2 separate regions of the Homo sapiens genome follow, and region 1 is linked to region 2. The links are contacts of gene promoters, found by promoter capture Hi-C in blood cells and fetal thymus (Javierre and others, 2016). All regions are on one chromosome and are shown on one strand. The core of a region is centred on a gene start or on the middle of the fragment in contact, and the rest is flanking DNA. Distances in the headings are between cores, read along the strand shown.

Region 1 (3,883 bases), core at 610-3,109, 300 kb before region 2:
AGGGGACAGAGGCCCAACACCCCCGAGGCAGTCAGGGGAAGAGGCAGAACCCACTCAAGTCTGTCCACTCCCTGTGCCTTCCCTCATCAGCCCAGAACTCCTCATGGCCAGAGTGTGTCTCCCCCGTCACCCCAGAGATTCCTCAGTGGCTGACATCACCCACTCCTGACTCCCCTCACAGGGCACTGACCGGGGAAATCCCTCCATGGGGCCTGGACTATGGAAGAGTCAAGTGCAGGAAGAACTTTCCATAAGGACTGGAGCAAAAGGCTGGGAATTGGAGGAGATTGGGGGTGGGGCTGCTGAAGGAGGAGAGACCAATCCTGGGGACAGTTGGGGGCACCTTACCCAATTCCTCCACCCCCGCCCCTTAACTCCTCACTTGTCTCACCTGTTGACCTTCTCATGTGCCGATTCAGAGATTCCTCACACTCAGGCTCTGACCTCCACTGACTCTGATGGCCCACAGCAGGTGCAGGGTCTAGTTTTTCTCCAGCCACAGGGCCCACAGCTGGGGTGACCAACGACCAGGAGCTCAGGATTGAAATCCCCACCCTGCCACTTCTTAGCTGGGTCACCTTAGGAAGAGTTCATCCCCTCTCTGAGCTTTCCTCATCTGTAAGAAATGACAGGTAAATCTCTGCCTTGGAGGGTGGCTGGAGGACTGAGAGACAGAGGCTGTGATAACTCATGGCCAGCTGTGAGTTGCAGTACTTGCTGGTTGGATTAGCAATTGAGGAAACTGGTTTGGAAGGGGTTAAATGGAGACCCTGCCTCCCAGCCAGGAGCGAATCAGGGCTGGGAGGGGAGGAGCCAGGCTGCTGCTAAGGAAAGAGATCAGGATGGGCCAGTTGCCGACTGGAGAGGGATGGGAGGAGATACCATAGGGTTTGGGGGGCTTGGCACAGCGGCCCTGGCCTCTGCACTGTGATAGCTCCAAGCCAGATGGTGCAAGGCAGCTGCTGGGCTGCGGGGAAGAGGGGCTGCACTTCCTGAGCTGGTGCAGCGGCAGAGTGGATAAGGATCAGGACCCCGAGCCCTCCTGGCCCTCCAAGGCAGGGGGACACCGGCTGCACCCAGGCTGTGACCTCAGCTGACGCCGATGATCCACATGGGATGCAGGGTCTAATTTTAGCTCCAGCCACAGGGGCCACAGCCCAGAAGCGTCTGCCAGCGGGCACAGGGGCAGCCAGGGCTGCTCAGGCAAGGGGAGGAGTGGGAAGACCAGCCCAGCTCCCTCCAGCCTGTCCCTGGCCAAGCCGCCTCCTGTGGGAGCTCTGACTGGTCCCCATGGCCTGGCAGACAGCCCTCCTCTCAGTTGAGGGCAAGGTCAAGGGGTGCAGCCAGGAGGGCAGGGGGACACGGCCCTGCATTCTGGACAGGGGTTGCGTCAGCCAGAGCAGTGCCCAGGGGCAGGGGTCCCTGCTGGGAGGGAAAAGGCTGGCTTGGTTGTCCAAAGGCCGAGAAGGCAGAGTCCTGAGAGCAGGGGGGCCAGGCCAGCAAGCTGGGTCCCACCTGGCCTCCTCCTGCCTGGCTGGTGACTCACTATCTGACCTTAGACAGGCGGCCTGGTCTCGATGGGCCTCAGTCTTCCCATCTGTACAATGACAGCACAGGACTAGCAGGTCGGTCCCAGCTCTGGTCTCCCGCCCCAGGCCCTGCTCTTCCTGCTTGCTGGCAGAGGCCTCCCAGCTTCCCTAGCCCTGACTGTGGGTGGCCACATGCAGTCGTGGAGGAGAAGAAAGTCCCTGTGGCTGGCACTGTCAGCCTCCTGGCTCCTGCTTGTCCTGCTGGGAGGCTTCTCCCTTCTCCGCCTGGCATTGCCTCCCAGACCTCGGCCCGGGGCTTCCCAAGGCTGGCCCCGCTGGCTGGATGCAGAGCTCCTGCAGAGCTTCTCCCAGCCTGGAGAGCTCCCAGAAGATGCCGTTTCACCTCCTCAAGCCCCTCATGGTGGCAGCTGCAACTGGGAATCTTGCTTTGATACCTCAAAGTGCAGGGGCGATGGCCTTAAGGTATTCGTGTACCCAGCGGTTGGAACCATCTCTGAGACTCATCGCAGGATCCTGGCTTCCATTGAGGGCTCTCGCTTCTACACATTCAGCCCTGCTGGGGCCTGCCTCCTCCTCCTCCTCAGCCTGGACGCCCAGACTGGAGAGTGCAGCTCAATGCCTCTGCAATGGAACAGGGGCAGGAACCATCTGGTCCTCCGTCTCCACCCGGCTCCCTGCCCCAGGACCTTCCAGCTGGGACAGGCTATGGTGGCTGAGGCCAGCCCCACGGTGGACTCCTTCCGGCCCGGCTTTGATGTGGCCCTCCCTTTTCTCCCTGAAGCCCACCCGTTGCGAGGTGGGGCTCCTGGCCAGCTGCGGCAACACAGCCCCCAGCCCGGGGTAGCCCTGCTAGCCCTGGAAGAGGAGAGGGGTGGGTGGCGCACAGCAGACACTGGCTCCTCTGCCTGCCCCTGGGATGGGCGCTGTGAGCAAGACCCTGGACCTGGGCAGTAAGTGAACCTTTTGCCTTGGGGGCTGGATGGGAGGGGGCTGGAATAGACGCAAGCCCAAAAACGAGGGTAGAAGGCAGGACTGAGATGGGAGAACCAGGTAGTCCTGGTAGACTTAGGCCTCAGCTGCAGCAGCAGGAGGGAGCCAGGTTAGATGGCAGAGAGCACTTCCATTAAGATGGGGACTTGAAGCAAGGGTTGTCTAAGGTAGGTTTTGGAATTCTCCCCTGGGGATCTTTCAAAACATAAAACACGACTCATTCCAAACCTCCTACCCTAATATTTTTTTTCCCCACATACAGTTGTATAGTGCTTACTCTGTGCTAAGCACTTATATAAATAATGATTATAATAAAATATGCTAGTTGTTAGCATTTAAGTGTTTGTGTACCAGGCACGAAAGCTCAGACAGGTTAAGTAATTTTTCTCAGGCCACCCAGCCGGAAAGAGCCAGTATTTTGATCCAGAATTGCCTATCTCCAAAGCCTTCAGTATGAGAATTCTGAGTTTTAAGTAAAAGTTTATGATCAACCTCATCAAATGCCTCAGAAGGGCCTCACAGTCACAGCTGGAAGCTGCTCCCGTGTCTAATTTTGGGGATTAACCTCTCAAAGAAACAGCCTTTGGTTATAGCAAATATGACGCAGGTCAGATCTAAAGAATTTCCTGCCAGTGAGAGGCCCTTGACATATATAAGGGACTGGGGGCCTGTGGGATGTGGTGAGCTTGTACAGAAACTCTTTCCGCCTGGGCTAGTTGGGGGTGATGCGCCTCAGGTGATAGTTATCCCCTAAGCACTCTAACCCTCTGTGTCCCCAGCAGGCCAGCAGCCTCTAAAGGCTAGCTGGGCAGGCAAGAATGGGAGTCCCTCTGAGGTTGTCCAGGGCCCCGGTGGCAGAGGGTTCCTTCTGTATCCCACCATCTCCCAGGGCCTACCTGAGTCGGGAACTGTCACTCTGGTATCCTCCTTTTGCTCCTCCCTCAGGTCTCTCTCCCTATTCTCTGCTCCAACAACATCAACTATTCTGAGCTCCACTCCCTCCCAGGAATTCTTGCCTCTGCTTGGGGCTCCCGGGACTTCTCTCGGCCAAAGGGCTCTCGTGGGAATGGGATCCTTCCACTTCCTGAAGGTACATGGAGGCCTCCAGGGAGCCCTCACAGCCAGGAGTAAGAATGGACTTGTCCCGGTCAGCCCCAGGGTCCTTTTGCTGGGACCTATCCCTAGTGGTCTCCAAGGTGGGAGCCTGAAAAGTCAGGGATCTCCCCCAAGCCCCTGCAGCTCAGCGCTCAGGCAGAAGCTCACTTTGAGCGACAAGGCTCTCCCTTTGCCATGCCCTCCCTCACTTTTCTGATGAGGCACTCAGGTACTCTTGCTTGCAGGAA
Region 2 (3,630 bases), core at 857-3,356:
GTTTCACCATGTTGGCCAGGCTGGTCTAGAACTCCTGACCTCAGGTGATCCACCCACCTCGGCCTCCCAAAATGCTGGGATTACAGGCGTGAGCCACTGTTTCCTGGCCTTTTTTTTTTTTTTTTTGAGACAGGGTCTTGCTCTGTCACCCTGGCTGGAGTGCAGTGCCACAATCATGGCTCATTGCAGCCTGGGCCTCCCAGGTGCAAGCAATCCTCCTGCGTCAGCCCCCAAGTAGCTGAGACTATAGGTTTGTGCCACTATGCCCGGCTAATTTTTTTTTTTTTTTTTTTTTTTTTTGAGAGATGGGGCCTTCCTATGTTGCCCGGGTGGTCTCAAACTCCTGTGCTCAAGTTATCTGCCCGCCTCAGCCTCCCAAACTGCTAGGATTACAGGCGTAGCCCCTATGCCCAGCCTCTGTTTTTTTCTTTGGACTCAGCCTCAGCCAGATCTCCCCTGGGCTTGCAACACAAGGCCCAAAACAATAGAAGAGAAGTGAGGGGAGTTTTCCCTTTACTACCTAGCATGTAAATGAGGCCTAAAGTAGACTAAGGAAGGGAGAGTGTGAAGGGAGAGTGGGCCAGAGCTGGGGTTGTGGTGACCAACTCCTGGGGCCTGGGGGGAGTTTGTGTAGGGGAGGGGGAGGGAGTGGCAGGGAATCAAGACTTAATGGATGAATTCTAGGGCAGCCCCAGAGGTTACATACATGGCTGTGGCTTCAGACAGACCTGGATTCAAGGTCAAATGAGACTGGCTCCACCATTTACGACCTTAGCAAGTCACTTAACATCTAAGCCTCAGTTTTTTCACCAGTCAAATGGGGATAAACATAACACCTGCTGCAGGGCACCACAGAGGGTATCAAGTGAGGGAATGCATAAAGCATGGAGCACTATCCAGGCAGCTGTGGGATTCCTCTCATCCCCCCACCCCTCCCTGGGCCCTCACAGCCACTCTCTCACCCCAGTCCCCTTCCACTGTAGCTTAGTCACCCACTTGTCCCTTCCCTCGCTCCCCTCCCATTCATCCTCAGCTAATACAAACAACCCATCTGCTTGCTACTTTCTCTACCAAAATCACAAAATTCTAGGTCTTGGCTGGGCGCGGTGGCTCATGCCTGTAATCCCAGCACTTTGGGAGGCCGAGGCAGGCGGATCACTTGAGATCAGGCATTCGAGACTAGCCTAGCCAACATGGTGAAACCCAGTCTCCGCTAAAAAAAAAAAAAAAATACAAAAAATTAGCCAGGCATGGTGGCACACACCTGTAGTCCCAGCTATGCGGGAGGCCAAGGCAGGATAATTGCTTGAACCCAGGAGGTGGAGGTTGCAGTAAGCCGAGATCATGCCAGTGCACAGAGCAAAACTCTGTTTAAAAAAAAAAACAAAAAAACCAACAACAACAAAACAAAACACTAGGTTTTAACAAACTTCAGAAATAATCTATTTCAGTCTTCCCAGTTCCTTGAAATGAGGAACTGAGGCCTAGAGAGGGAAAGCCCAACTGAAACCAGGCTTCCCGATTCCTCACCTCCAGCACCTTCACAGAAATCCACCAACCCTTCCACAATCTAAACATTTCCCAAGCTTTCATTCAGAACCTGCAGCCCATCTACAACCTTCCCTTGAAACATAAATCTATCCCAGCCCTTCTCCTTCAGCTCCTATACCCTGCCCCAATCTTCTTTAAACAACAAACTCATTTACGGAATATCTGCTATGTTCTGGCTCTTTTTAAATTGGTTATTATTACATGTAATCCGGCAGTTCTTTTGTTAAAGGGTCAGAGAGGTAGAGTTTCTGGCCCAGGGTCTCAGAGCTGGTCAGTGATTAAACCAGGATTCAGCCTGCAGGATGCATGATTCCAGGCCTTGGGCCCTACTTACTCCCACCGTTGCCTCTGGATTGACCTCTCTCCTATCTTGTACGATCTAGCCTGCTCCCCCAGCCAGGGCCTTAGAACCTAGAGCCTGGTATTATCCACCCCCAGATCTGCAGAAAGGAAGCCACACCCCTCCTCCACCTTGTAAGCCCTCCTTCCTCTCCCTACCTCACCCCGCCTCCTCTGCCTCCTGGTTCAAAAGCAGCTAAACCAAAAGAAGCCTCCAGACAGCCCTGAGATCACCTAAAAAGCTGCTACCAAGACAGCCACGAAGATCCTACCAAAATGAAGCGCTTCCTCTTCCTCCTACTCACCATCAGCCTCCTGGTTATGGTACAGGTAAGAGCAACGCCTGGCACCACTGCCAGGACTCCCCAAAGTTGCTTGGCATGGAGGGAGGGCATACAGGATGTGAGCTCCCAGAGACCCAGCCTTCTCTCCTGAGAGCACAGCAGATGGACTCCAACAGGAAAACTGGGGACACAGCGGGCCTGGCCGCCCAGCCTTCCAGCTCTTCTGGCTGGGGCTGCACTGCTTGCGGGCTGCCCTGAGAGAAACCTGTATCCACAGCTGGGGAGCACTTACAGGGTGCTAGGCGCGTTGGGGCACCCAAGGGGTGTTGTGGAATAATAGAGAACTAAGAGACTTGGGAAGACAACCCTGAGTGAGGAAGGCATCGGCCCACAGGGAGTCTGGGGAGATGGTCCTTTGGGGAGAGGCCAGGAGATGTCCAAGTGGAGCCTGCTGTGGTTATGGAGGTGACAGGGGACACTCTAACCCCCACTCCCCTGCCAGAGAGAAGCCTGGATGTTCAGGAATGCAAAGAAGACAGGACTCTCCCATTTCAGAAACAACTGGAGTCTCAAAAGCGACTGCTATTCCAGGAGGCAGCTTTGGTAGCATCCCAGGTGCCCAGAGGGGAGTCAGTACAGCAGACCGGAGCCATCAAGTTCTTGATCAAGAACAGCTTGATCACCATCAAAACCAGCTTAATCTCCATCAAGAACAGTTCTAGTTGCAGCTCCATCAAGCATTAAGGACAGCTCGATCACCATCTGGCCACTTCCCCACCCCACATCCAGCCACCCACGCTTTGCCAAGTGCTTTCTCACTCAGCCCTGGCTCATGTGACCTTCACAACTGTGATGAACTTCTCCCCACTCAGAAGATGAAACTGAGGCTCAGGGAAGCTAAGCCCTTTGCCAGGCTAGGAAGGTCAAGGGCCAGGGCTCCCCTGTCTCCCTCTATGCCAGAAGGGCTGGTCGCTGGGGAAAGGTGAAAAGAAAGGTTCTGTGACCGGGCACGGTGGCTCACGCCTATAATCCCAGCACTTTGGGAGGCCGAGGCAGGCGGATCACCTGAGGTCAGGAGTTCAAGACCAGCCTGGCCAACATGACAAAATCCCGTCTCTACTAAAAATACAAAAATTAGCTGGGCGAGCCGGGCGCGCTGGCTCGCGTCTGTAATCCCAGCACTTTGGGAGGCTGAGGCGGGTGGATCATGAGGTCAGGAGATCGAGACCATCCTGGCTAACACATTGAAACCTCGTCTCTACCATAAATACAAAAAGAAATTAGCCGGGCGTGGCGTGGTGGCGGGCGCCTGTAGTCCCAGCTACTCGGGAGGCTGAGGCAGGAGAATGGCGTGAACCTGGGGGTGAAGCTTGCAGTGAGCCGAGATCACGCCACTGCACTCCAGCCTGGGCGGGCGACAGAGCAAGACTCTGTCTCGGAAAAAAAAAAAAAATTA

The links. The method cuts DNA at HindIII sites, captures the fragments that hold promoters and counts their contacts. A CHiCAGO score of 5 or more calls a contact.
Region 1: a contact is called between a fragment that was not itself captured here and the fragment with the promoter of CD52 in region 2, in 1 of 17 cell types (endothelial precursors). The highest score is 6.4, in endothelial precursors.

What each region holds. Positions count from the first base shown.
Region 1 is chr1:26,020,926-26,024,808 of GRCh38, forward strand. EXTL1 (exostosin like glycosyltransferase 1) reads left to right here and starts at 850. Exons shown (of 11, transcript NM_004455.3): 1 at 850-2,500. The coding sequence starts at 1,722. The HindIII fragment of the contact is 4,527 bases long and covers 1-3,883 here.
Region 2 is chr1:26,315,852-26,319,481 of GRCh38, forward strand. CD52 (CD52 molecule) reads left to right here and starts at 2,107. Exons shown (of 2, transcript NM_001803.3): 1 at 2,107-2,220. The coding sequence starts at 2,167. It also overlaps a transcript of UBXN11 not described here. RefSeq lists a silencer at 1,897-2,089 and enhancers at 2,164-2,233, 2,364-2,513, 2,887-3,630, 3,014-3,113. The HindIII fragment of the contact is 1,957 bases long and covers 1,585-3,541 here.